4 separate regions of the Homo sapiens genome follow, and all the other regions are linked to region 1. The links are contacts of gene promoters, found by promoter capture Hi-C in human tissues and cell types (Jung and others, 2019). All regions are on one chromosome and are shown on one strand. The core of a region is centred on a gene start or on the middle of the fragment in contact, and the rest is flanking DNA. Distances in the headings are between cores, read along the strand shown.

The links. The method cuts DNA at HindIII sites, captures the fragments that hold promoters and counts their contacts. A contact is called where the count stands out against the background at its distance.
Region 2: a contact is called between the fragment with the promoter of ZNF624 here and the fragment with the promoter of TOP3A in region 1, in 1 of the 25 tissues and cell types used here (dorsolateral prefrontal cortex).
Region 3: a fragment that was not itself captured here is called in contact with the fragment with the promoter of TOP3A in region 1 in 1 of the 25 tissues and cell types used here (dorsolateral prefrontal cortex).
Region 4: a fragment that was not itself captured here is called in contact with the fragment with the promoter of TOP3A in region 1 in 1 of the 25 tissues and cell types used here (dorsolateral prefrontal cortex).

The regions. Positions count from the first base shown.
Region 1 is chr17:18,313,284-18,316,400 of GRCh38, forward strand. It overlaps TOP3A (DNA topoisomerase III alpha), which reads right to left and starts at 1,711. Exons shown (of 19, transcript NM_004618.5): 1 at 1,316-1,711. The coding sequence starts at 1,495. SMCR8 (SMCR8-C9orf72 complex subunit) reads left to right here and starts at 2,010. Exons shown (of 2, transcript NM_144775.3): 1 at 2,010-3,117. The coding sequence starts at 2,507. It also overlaps the pseudogene RPL21P121. RefSeq lists enhancers at 760-1,283, 1,231-1,320, 1,331-1,680, 1,808-2,331, 2,021-2,070 and a silencer at 1,831-1,880. The HindIII fragment of the contact is 14,501 bases long and covers 1-3,117 here.
Region 2 is chr17:16,652,478-16,655,520 of GRCh38, forward strand. ZNF624 (zinc finger protein 624) reads right to left here and starts at 1,373. Exons shown (of 6, transcript NM_020787.4): 1 at 1,287-1,373. It overlaps LOC124903934 (a long non-coding RNA gene), which reads left to right and starts at 1,415. Exons shown (of 4, transcript XR_007065639.1): 1 at 1,415-1,493; 2 at 1,607-2,721. RefSeq lists an enhancer at 617-1,127 and a silencer at 1,083-1,282. The HindIII fragment of the contact is 17,730 bases long and covers 1-3,043 here.
Region 3 is chr17:16,596,180-16,599,305 of GRCh38, forward strand. No RefSeq gene overlaps it. Among named protein-coding and RNA genes, the nearest start is that of ZNF287, 29 kb to the left of the region's middle. The HindIII fragment of the contact is 5,873 bases long and covers 1-3,126 here.
Region 4 is chr17:16,574,675-16,577,696 of GRCh38, forward strand. No RefSeq gene overlaps it. Among named protein-coding and RNA genes, the nearest start is that of ZNF287, 7.0 kb to the left of the region's middle. The HindIII fragment of the contact is 7,092 bases long and covers 1-3,022 here.

The DNA of each region.
Region 1 (3,117 bases), core at 461-2,960:
TGGCACTGCTGCGAACAAGGGCTAGATTCTTGCCCAAAGAATTAATGTTTCTATTGAGCATATTAAGCACTCTAAGAACCAAGATCTTTCCTGAAATGTGTGAAGGAAAATGATCAAAAAAGAAGCAAGTCAAAGAGAAAGGGTTCACCTGAAGTGCCAGCCTGTTCCATTGAGGGAAGTACACTTTGTGAGAACCAATGGAAAAGAGCCTGAGCCGCTGGAACCTATTCCCTATGGATTCATGGTATGATAGGGTAAAAATAGATAAATACAAGACCTCTGGATTGCTTAAAAAAAAAAAAAAAAAAGGGAGAGAGAGAGAATGAATTCAGCAGAGCCTTGAAGGATAAGAAGTTAGGCGTAGGAGAACCATTTTTCAATGTCTACTTCATTGTCTAGAAGTAGACAAACCTTGGGGCTGGTCACCAGGACTTCTAGCACTGGAAACAGGTAAAGCTGTCAGCCAGCATTCACACAACCCTGGCTCCACTCCCACTATCCTTGATCTGGAAACAGGTCTTAGGACCCTGGGAACTAAAGAAAAATGAGCAGGGAACTTCCACCCATGCTCTTAGAAAAGTTCTCCAGAAAACCATTTCAGGATCTACTTTTGTTATCTGAGATATTTTCCTGGACAGCTCTTTATGTCTCCCGTGGCACCTCCTTTATGAAACTTTTTCTTATCCTCCCTTGCGTTTGTGCCTCCCGTGTGTGTAGAACACATTCTTACCACTTACCTCTCTCAGAATCAGTTCATTCGGGTAGGAACAGGGCTGACTTCAAATCTAATCCCCAAACCTTACCGTGTTGCTGTAAGTGTGCACTGTGAGGCTGGAAAGTCACAAGGGCTGTAGAATGCAGTGGCTGTGGCACAGGATGGGGAGGGCTAGGTTGGCTGGGGAACGATCGGGCAGGGCTTGAATGCCAAGTTAAGGGAATCTGGTCAGTAGTTCCCAAATGAATTTCTGAATCTCTAGGGAAAAACAGTAAAATACACACTTCCCCAGCCTCACACAAGACCCGAAGGGCAGCCAGCGCCCGAGGCGATTCCGAGAATCAGACAAGTTTGGGAACCTGCTAAGCGCAAGCAAAACAAAAGGTTTCCACGCAAATGAGTGAGATGTATCAACTACGTTTTAAAATGCACTCCAGTCCGAGAGCAGACAGGAGGCCACTGCAATAATCCAGACGAGGGGCAGTGAGGCCTGAGAAATGGGAGATAATCGCCTTCATCTCGATTCTTGGCGCCCACCACGCTGTCCCGCTCGGTGGGCCTCCCTTAAGGCACGCAGCTGATCGGAACGCGCTTTCTTACCCGCCTCATGCGACCGTTTGACAGCAGGTCGGCGATCCCCTTGGCCGCGTCGTTTTTTTCGGCCACACAGAGGACTTTCCGCACGCCTCGGAGGGCCATCTCCATGGCGGCGCGGGAAAAGGCACGGTCTTCGGGCCGTCGCAGCCACCGGAGCGCGTAGCGGGCGACAGGAAAGATCATCCTCAGACCTCGCGCCCGGAGCCGCTCCCCGGCTGCCGGCGCATCCTGGGGAAGCCAGAGATGAGGCTCAAATGGCGCCCACCGAAAGGGAACCAGAGCCTCGCTTCGGTCACGTCCCCACCAGCCTGCTGGCCTTTGGAGCTTCAGTCACTGAGCCTTTCCCGTGCCGCAGCCGCCGCCTCAGCACCGAATCCAGTATCTTGGCGTGGAACTTCCGCCCGCCTTCTCCAGCTACTTCCGCCAGGCGCGCGCCCCACAGCGACCTGGAACTACAACTCCCAGACTGTCCCGCGCCCCTCGTCCAAGCACGTTCCCCTCTGCCACCTTCCCGCCGCCCCCGTCTCACTCCGCCCCTCTTTCCCCTCCTTCCCGGCAGTGGTTGGTTAATCGGACTCCTTCTTGCGGGGAGCCGCCAGACACTCCCATCCAAGGCCTCTTTCTCATGACTTTTTAATCTCCTGCTCGGAAGTCTACGAGGACGCTTCCGGGTCACGCGGCGCGGACACCAGGAGTCATGTGATGTCAAGATGGCGGCGCCGCGGTAGCAGGATCCGGGTTGTGGCGTCCTAGGAGCCGCGACGGTTTCTGCCCTCGGGCAGTGAGGGGCAGCAGCGCTTGGCTGACCCCTGCGGCGTCCCGTAGCCTCGCGTTAAGCCTTGTTCAGAGCGGGGGCTTTTGCTGTCGCAGTGGGTTCCGGAGAGTGCAGGTGATTTCGCAGCAGGTTTCTTGTGCTGGCCGCGCTCGCCGGACGAAGAAGAGAAGGGCAGTTGGGCCTGCGGCCTTGGCGTTCATGAGGCCTCAGAGAGCTCCGGAGGAGCTACAACTGTGAGGGGGCTGCTAGAGTTCTTCTCCTCGGGTGTGTGAGAAGCAGCCTAGGACCCCGGGTTCGGGGAGTCGCAAAGAAGGCCGTAAGGGCTTCACTTCCTTCTCCGGAGGCCTGCCTTCTGCGCGTCGATTAACACCGCATTCTTTCCCACTTCCTCTCAATGTTTTCTTCATATATCTGGAAATATGATCAGCGCCCCTGACGTAGTGGCCTTCACCAAAGAGGAAGAGTATGAAGAAGAGCCTTACAATGAGCCGGCCCTGCCTGAGGAGTACTCGGTGCCGCTCTTCCCCTTCGCCAGTCAGGGTGCTAACCCCTGGTCAAAACTGTCCGGGGCCAAGTTTTCGAGGGACTTCATTCTTATTTCCGAGTTCTCTGAGCAGGTGGGACCCCAACCCTTACTGACCATCCCCAATGACACCAAAGTTTTTGGCACTTTTGATCTCAATTACTTCTCCCTGCGTATCATGTCTGTGGATTACCAGGCTTCCTTCGTGGGCCATCCTCCTGGATCTGCCTACCCCAAGCTGAACTTCGTGGAGGACTCCAAGGTGGTGCTGGGAGATTCTAAGGAGGGCGCCTTTGCATACGTGCACCACCTTACCCTATACGACCTGGAGGCCCGTGGCTTCGTGAGGCCGTTTTGCATGGCTTATATCTCTGCAGACCAGCATAAAATCATGCAGCAGTTCCAGGAGCTTTCAGCCGAATTTTCCAGAGCTTCTGAGTGCTTGAAGACTGGCAACAGGAAGGCATTTGCTGGGGAACTTGAAAAAAAGCTGAAAGACTTGGATTA
Region 2 (3,043 bases), core at 123-2,622, 1.7 Mb before region 1:
TAATAAACTCTTTGGCAATACTTTATGTAGATTATGTAGATTATGCTCGTAACATATGTTTAACAACCAAACTACAATAAATCCCTTGTTTTATTTTATAATTAGAATAAACAATATTTAACATTTAATATATTCAGCTTGATCTCAATTGTGCAAATGTAATGCATAGAAAAAAAGACTGAGTAACCCAAAACTCTACTGAGACCTCTGAGACCTGGGGCTGTGATGTTTACCCTTCTTTCTGCTTTTCTGTACTCTCCAAGCAGACAAGAAGAAGTATCTACCTATACATAGGAGTGTGGAATAGGAATAAAATCCCAGAGTGGCTGGCCACATCCCCAGGTTCTAACCCTGCTTTGGCTACCGTAAAACTGTGACCACAGGCAAGTCACTTGAGCACAACGAATCAGCTATTAGTACATGACAGTAGCCACCTTATATGTTTCTACTGTCCCCTTTGTCATTATGCAGAAGATATCTAGGCCACTATTCCCCAGTTATAATTTCCCTATTTACAAGCTCTGTCTTTCCAACTATTGCAAACGTATCCAGAGACTTAAGGAGAAACTTTACTTGTTTTGCTTCCTTGGCCAGTGCAGTTATTTAGAAATAATGAAGGGTCCATGTTTTTGCTGAGAATCTCAGCGCCATGTACCAGTCCAGCATTTCCCAACCAATGCAATAATACCATTGTCATGTCAGGGAGTGACAAGTGATTAAAAGGTGATTACAGTATTTGAAATGTGACATTTCAGGAAAAGCTGCCTCGGTTACTGAGTAGCGCAGGTCCCCCGATGTGGAACCTAGTTCCATCCCTGCCAGTTCAGAAGCCAGAGCGGATATGCTCCTGCCAACCTCGCCTTCTTTCCCTAACTGCTCTCCTCTACCCACTTCGGGTATGCCCTCCTCAGGGCCTGCAAGGCGCGGGGCTGGGAAGACCGGGAAAGTCGGGTCAGGGGCCCGCCCGCCCTACTCGACTCCCTGCGCCCTGCGCCCGGCTCTTTTTAACCCCAGCGCCGCCAGGCCCGCAGGGAGGGGGTTCCCGGGTTTGGACCCGGACTAGGAGGCCGCATAGGGCACGCGGCCCTACCTGTGAGGGAGGCCAGCTGGAGACTGAACCCACACTCGGGAAGGAGGCCCAGCCCCAATCGCCTCTCAGGAGTGGGCGGGTCCGCTCAGGGACAGGGGCTCTAGAGGGAACGGCCACGCCCCGGACGCCGCCGGGAGCCAAGCGCCAAGGGAGGGGCGGCGGGCAACCGAGGCCAGGCGCCCGGGACAACGAGTACCTGGCGGCCGAACTGAGGACAACTGAGGGAACTCGCAGAGCAGGGCGGGAACGCTTCCAGCAATGGCGGCGGCTCGGCGGTGCCGGCCTCCAGGCAGGGCATTGCGCCTGCGCAGCCGGAGCGTCGGAACTACAGTGCCCAGAATCCTCAGCGCCTGAGCCCCCCGCCCCTTTTGTCTGCGTTAGTGAAGGAATTGGCTCTTCGAGGGTGAGAAAAAATTCCAATTGGATACACTTCTGTTGAGAAGCCTTGACTATGTGTCAAAAGCAATAGCACTAGAGATACAAATAATGACACAACCCTTGTCTTGGAACATTTAGGTGCGACTAAAGAAAGCCGTCGAGAGAACAGATAGATGTGATCCAGACAAATATGTGAACAAGTGCTTGGAAACACATATTTCTGAACAATTCCCTTTATGACAATTCCCTCAGAGTTGGAAGAGACAACAATTGATGACTATAATGCCAATTAAGTAGAATGGATATGAATGTCTGAAAATAAGCTGGAAATTTTAAGGCCAAAATTCTTCGAAATACAAAGAAAAAACCTTTCTGAAGACAAATAGCTGTAGAAGTTCTCCTCAATGCATACAAATGATAATTCTTAAAACACAATGACTGAAAGTATTTATTTGCAACAAATTTATTTGACCACTTATTCAAGGGCTGCTCGTCCAAGAGCTATATTAAGGTCTATTTACTTTATCCCTACCAAAGGCGGTATTTTTTGAGGATAGAAACTACATCTCATGGAGTTTATCACTCAGAGTGCCTACTTAGGAGACTGCTTGCATACTGAATGAAACGAAGGAAGAATGAATGAATAATTTGGGACCCCACCTCCCAACACACTTCCACATATCGAAATGCACACGGAATGAGGTACATCTTCTAAGGAGAGTGGCATTGAAGAGTAATCAAAACAACAGGATATTCACAGGAGGACTGGAATAAAACGAAATTTCCAGTGAAAAAGATTACTCAAAATATTTATTCAATACACTCTGAAATTAGAAACTAAGCAAATGTCTTTTGGAGATCCCAGTTCCCTCACATTCCCCACAGATGAAGATGAGCCAAACAGAAGTCCAAAACTTAAACATTACAAAACAAATAATAAAATAAGACACTGTGACTGAAAATCAGCACAAACAATAAACGGCAGAAATATATCCCCCAAAACTTCAGAGGCAGAGCTCATTTGATTAAAAATTTAAAATTATTACATTTAAAATGTTTAAGGACATGATAGATGGAATTAAAAACATTATCAACAAACAACAGAATGTAAAATAAGCCACCAGGAAAGTTTAGAGAAACATACACATTTCGTTAAACTATTAAAAAAAAATGTTTAACACAATATTTAGGGTAGATTATTACTTCTACAGGGATAAAGTCCAGGAAAGACAGACACACAGGTGACTTCAAAGGTATTGGTAGTGTTTTATTTCTTAATTTTGGTAGGAGTACACTGTTCAATTTGTAGTGATATTTGTTATAGGCAATTTTGTGTGCATTTTATATTTAGTAATTTTTAAACTCTTAAAGAACTCTTCTGTGAAGGAAGAAACTAATGCTTTTTGGCTTCAAATAATAAACCAATGGTTAAAAGTTACTTGAAGATAGATTTTGATTCAGATTGTATAACTTTATGCTAACAACGAACAGCTTTAGAAAATAGAGTAGGCTACCTTGTGCAATAATGAATTTGAATTCTTTGGAGAAGTTCAGGCAGAGATTAGATGAATCCTT
Region 3 (3,126 bases), core at 183-2,682, 1.7 Mb before region 1:
AAGGCGGGTGGATCACAAGTTCAAGAGATCAAGACCATCCTAGCCAACATGATGAAAACCCGTCTCTACTAAAAATACAAAAATTAGCTGGGCGTGGTGGCACTTGCCTGTAGTCGCAGCTACTCGGGAGGTTGAGGCAGGAGAATCGCTTGAACCTGGGAGGTGGAGGTTGCAGTGAGCCGAGATCGCGCCACTGCACTCCAGCCTGGGCAACACAGCGAGACTCCGTCTCAAAAAAAATAAAATAAAAAATAAAAAAAGGAAAAAAAAAAGAAAATAGGAAAATCCATAGAGACAGAAAAAAGACTAGTGGTTACCAGAGCCTGGGAGGAGGGGGGAAATGTGGAGTGGCTGCTTAATGGGTGAGGATTTCCTTTTGGGGTGGTGACAAATTCTGGACCTAGATAGTGTTGATGGTTGCATGACATTGTGAATGTACTTAATGTCAGTGAATTATACACTCTAAAATGGTTAGGATGATAAACTTCATGTTATGTGTATTTTGCTATAATAAAATACACAGCCTCGAGCCCCTGTGTAATCAGCGTGAATCCATTTATGAGGGTGGCACCCTCATGAACACCTCCCACTAGACCCCCTCTCCCAACACTGGTGCATTGAGGATTAAGTCTCCAACACATGCTTTTTGGGAGACACATTCAAACCATATGGTATTCCCCACAATACTGATGCTCATCTGTCATTTCCATGAAGCCCCCACCACTCAGGATGCATAAAAGCTTACTTAGTAGGATTGATGATGAGGCTTGCAGTCTCCCTGAGGAGAGCCTAGGGCCCCAGAAGCGAGCTTGCACCTCCAGGCCCTATTAACCATTAGAACTCAATCCCTGTTCCAAACACAATCAGTTCCTTCCACCCCAGCCTCCCCTTACTGGGTCAGATTTGACTGGGCATTTTAAGTGCGAGCGATGTAGTCCTCTCTCCTGAATTCAAGTTCCTCCCCCTACCCAGAAATGACAATTGCACATACAGAAGCTGATGCGTACAGTTTTAAAGAATACAATTTCTGTGTAAAAGTGTCACCATACAGTTGAAAACATCTGTATCACATATGTAACTTGCTGCCAGATGCCGGGCCAGTCACAGTGCACTCTGGCTGGATGTTTCAGAGATACTGGTTGCCTATGAAATGGTGACCATCTGATTCTGCAGAACCACAAAGTGAACACAAGTGATGATTCTAGGCATCAGTTTGCTAGAAAAGGGATCCAGCCCTCCACTTGTCACCCGAACCTCAGAGCTTCAGCCTTGGGGTTTCCTTTCAGGGCTGTGTTATGAAGGCAGAATCCCTCCCTGGTCTTCACGGATGCAGAAGGAGTTGCTGCCAACTTGAGATCTGGCACAAAAACTAAGGGAGGACTTGGAGAGGGAGTGAGGCCTCCTGAGCTGGGGCCACAGCCCCAGGGGAGCCCAGCTGCCTCCATGGCCCCCATCACAGAGATGGCCTCCCCCTGGCCTCGCTGACCAGAGCCTCAGTGGACAGGTGTGAAGGGGCAGATGGGACTCCTTCACTTTGCTCCAGTCACTCAGGGCTCCATCTCATCAGGGCAAGCTCTCTTCTCACCCCACACACCCTTCCACCCCGACACGGGCACATATACAACTGCCAGTGTGTCCCAGCCCCATGATATCCATCCAGACTTCAGCCCAGGCTGTCCCACCTCTGTGTCAGCCCTCAACAGGCTTTCGGCACAGGCTTGTCGATCTTGTTAAATGAAAATGTGTTTAACAAATTGGGATTGCAGAATCAGGTTGATTTATAGAGTAAAATGCTATCTGTGGCTAGGGCCCTCCAGGGCCCTGTGCACACATGTATGCATGCTACAGCTCCCTGAAGCCACGCAGCTGGAGAACAGAGCCAATCAGGTTCATCTGGCCAGGCAGGCAGCAGTAGGTGTTCCTGAAACCTTGCTCCTGAGACCCCGTAGCTCCAACACAGAAAGTCTGGCCAAACTGATCTACCTTGGATGGAGCCCCTCACCTACTCTGGGTCCCCACTCTCAAGTCCTTCCCAGACCTAGGGTGTGAACGGCCAGAGTCAGACCCAACACCTGCCCTCGTGTGGAGACTGCCCTACCAAGAGGCCCTTCCTTTCCATTCTATACCCTCCATCTCTACAGCAAAGATGTCATTCCTCAGCCCCATAAGTGGCAATGTCCCCACATTCCCAGCCACGGTCAGCTCCTTAAAACACAGGAGCCAACCTTCTCCATAGCCTCCAGGGAGGAGAGCATGCAGGGCCCTAGAGATGCCCGAGTTTAGGGCATGTGACAGAAGGTGATAGGGACAGAGCTCAGCTCTGTGCTGATTCTTCATGAACGGCTTGATGCTCTCCCTCTGGTGATGAGTGAGTTCTCACAGTCTTAGTTCTCATGAGAACTTACTGTTGGAAAAAGCCTGGCACCTCCTCCCTAGCCATGTGGTGCCGGCTCCCCGTCTCCTTCCGCCATGAGTGGAAGCAGCCTGAGGCCCTCACCGGAAGCAGATGCTGGCTCCGTGGTCCTTGGAAAGCCTGCAGAGCCATGGGCCAAATAAGCCTCTTTTCTTTATAAATTACCTTCTTCAGGCATTCCTTTTTAGCAACACAGACAGACTGGGAGGGTGACCCAGCCGCACATCCAGGCTTCTCCCTAGCTTGCTTTCTTTCTTTTTTTTTGAGACAGAGTCTCGCTCTGTCACCCAGGCTGGAGTGCCATGATCTTGGCTCACTGCAACCTCCGCCTCTGGGGTTCAAGCAATTTTCTGCCTCAGCCTCCCGAGTAGCTGGGATTACAGGTGCCCATCCGGCTAATTTTTTTGTATTTTTAGTAGAGACGGGGTTTCACCAAGTTGGCCAGGCTGGTCTTGAACTCCTGACCTCATGATCCACCCGCCTCAGCCTCCCAAAGTGCTGGGATTACAGGTGTGAGCCACCGCGCTTGGCCCTCCCCAGTTTTCTAAAGAGGGACCTGGGCTCCTCCCCTCTGCAGCCATGGGTATTTAGGCCAGGCATCTTGGCAGGCATTAAACCAGTATCAAACCCATCAGGGGTTTCCCCCATGAGGTTTCAGCACCTTCAAGAGACTTAACACTCATGTTGAAATTTAATCCCTAATGTGGCAGTGT
Region 4 (3,022 bases), core at 186-2,685, 1.7 Mb before region 1:
TACTTACTGTTGGCAAACCAAATTAGTTCCTTGGCCTATAGGGTAAGAGCTACCAAAAAGGCCAAGTGGAATACTCTGAAACTACTTCCCTACCCCTTCCTTGGCCAAGACATAAGTCAAAAAGTGTCACTTCCAGAGGGAATGGCAGAGATTCATGCCTCTCTTAATGACCTAAAAGGTACAGGGTGGCAGTCCTCATTGTATCCCCACTTGATTTAACAGTCAGGCCCTTCCCAAACCCATATGGATTATGAGGATGACAGTGGATTATTATAAAAGATTGAACAAGAATTTGCTCCAATTGTTTTGCTAGAACAGACTGAGACATCCACAATTACATGGCATCCAGGCTTTGCTCTGGCAAGTGTGTTCATCTGCCAGGTGAGCAAGACATGGCAGGTAAGTCGGAGGCCTTGGTAAAAGACAAGCACTACAGAGGGTGGAGATGGATCCTACACAATTTCAGGGGCCTACTACAGCAGTAACATTTTAGGGGCAAGACAGCAATGGTCTCCAATACAGAGGGTGGATTATTGTGTTTCACATTCCTACCTCTTTTTTTTTTTTTTTGAGACTGAGTCTCACTTTGTCACCCAGGCTGGAGTGCAATGGCATGATCTCAGCTCACTGCAACCTCTGCCTCCTGGGTTCAAGCGATTCTCCTGTCTCAGCCTCCCGAGTAGCTGGGACTACAGGTGTGTGCCACCATGCCCGCTAATTTTTTTGTATTTTTGGTAGAGACAGGGTTTCACTGTGTTAGCCAGGATGGTCTCGAACTCCTGACCTCGTGATCCACCCACCTTGGCCCCCCAAAGTCCTGGGACTACAGGCATGAGCCACCATGCCTGGCCTACACTCCTACCTCTTAACAAGGAAGCACAATCCTTGATAAGACCTTTTGGGTTTCAAAGGCAGAACATTCTAACTTGAGCAAGAATCATGACATGGAATGCTGTCAGCTCTGAGTGGGGCACAGAGCAGGAAAAGGCTAGGCAGCAGGTCCAGGCTGTAGTTCAAGCAGTACTTCCACCTGGGCCATATGACCCAGCAGCTGTTATAGTAGTAGAGGTATCTGGGCTGCAAAAGACACCATGTGGAGTTTATGGCAAGCCCCACCATGTGAATCACAATATAGACCCCTCGGATTATAGAACAGGTCTTGTCATCTTCAGCAGAGAATTACATGCCATTCAAAGATCAGCTCCTAGCATGACACTGGGTAAAGAACTTGACCATGGAACATCATGTGACCTTGACCAGACCTGTTTATCATGAGCTAGGTTCCATCGGATGCTTTAAGTCATGAGGTCAAGCAAGTCTAGCAGTAATTCATAAGTAAAATGGAAGTGGTGTATGTGAGTTTGGGCATGTTTTAATATAGGTGTTATTATTATTTAAGTATAGTAAGTCCAATAGATCAGAAGATGACTGGCATTGAAAAGATAGTTTGTAATACAGATCCCAGCAGAAGGGGGTATTCCATGCCATGGGGATCTCCACGAAGAAGCACTGGGTTGGTCAGGAGGCAGAGGGTGGGGAGTTGTGGCCAAGAGCATTTATTGTGGTTTCCATGGGAAGGAATGATGAGGCATGGTAAGTGGATTCAGAATTGGCTAGTTTGAATAATTTTTTTTTTTTTTTGAGACTGAGTCTTGCTCTGTCACCCAGGCTGGAGTACAGTGGCACAATCTCAGCTCACTGCAACCTCTGCCTCCTTGGTTCAAGACATTCTCCTGCCTCAGCCTCCCCAGTAGCTGGGATTACAGGCACGCACCACCACGCCCAGCTAATTTTTGTATTTTTAGTAGAGACAAGAGTTTCACCATGTTGGCCAGGCTGGTCTCGAACTCCTGACCTTGTGATCTGCCTGACTTGGCCTCCCAAAGTATTGGGATTACAGGTGTGAGCCACCACGCCTGGCCAGTTTGAATAATTTTAGTGTGCCCTGGGGCATAAGTCTGTGCACAGTTGTCTGTTACTTAGGTACAATGTGCGTGGAGTGAAGAAAAAGTGGGAGAGAGGAGTAATTCTTTTTATTTTTTTGGTGCTGGAGTGATTAGAATAGGGGGATAGTGGCCCAGAGATAAGAAGGTGCCTGCGGGTGTGGGCTCTGGACTGGTTGGTTTGCATTTGAAAAGTGCACTCACAGACAAATTGTTAATGATCTCTAGGAACTGACTAACCCTGGTAAGGGCAGTCCCTCAGCAAGTCTTCAGATGTCAAAGCATCAGAATACATAAAATAAAAGACATGGTTAACACAGGGCACAAGCAAGACCAAAGTGGATAAGCTGCACAGGCAGATGGCTCAGCCTTTTATGGCATGATAACATGACACCTTCCCTCAGTGCACACCTATGATTGTGGGGGAACCAGCTAATGGAGGAAGAAAAAGTCCAACCCTGGTTCATGGATGAGTTTGCTCAATTTGTGGGTACCAGCTGAAAATGTGGGTACCAGCTCCTATATCATAGCCCTATTTAAGAGTGGCCTTGAAAGAAACTGATGAGAGAATGTCCTTGCAATGGACAGAGCTGGTGAACACCTGGACGTTTATTTTATGTAGAAAGAGAAGTGGACAGAAGTAAGGATACACACGAAAAAAGATGGCTGGCTTGGATGGTTGGTCAAGGGACTTAGAAGATGGAAAGACTGGAGGCAAGGAGGTCTGGGGGAAAATCCAAGTGGATAGAGCCACACTAGGGGGCATGAAGTGTGTCTTAGTCTGTTTTGTGCTGCTATAACAGAAAATCGCAGAGTGCCTAATTTATAATGAACAGAACTTTACTGACTCACGGTTCTAGAGGCTTGGAAGTCCAATATCAAGAAGCCAGCATCTGGTGAGGGCCTTCTTGCTGCATCATTCCATGTCAGAAGCACAAAGAGGGGGAGAAAGGGAGTAAAAGGGGCTGAACTTCCCCTTTGATAACAAACCCACATTCATGATAACAGCATTAATCCATTCACTCTGCTCTCAAGTCTAATCACTTCTCATTAGGCCTCACCTCCCAACACTATTGATA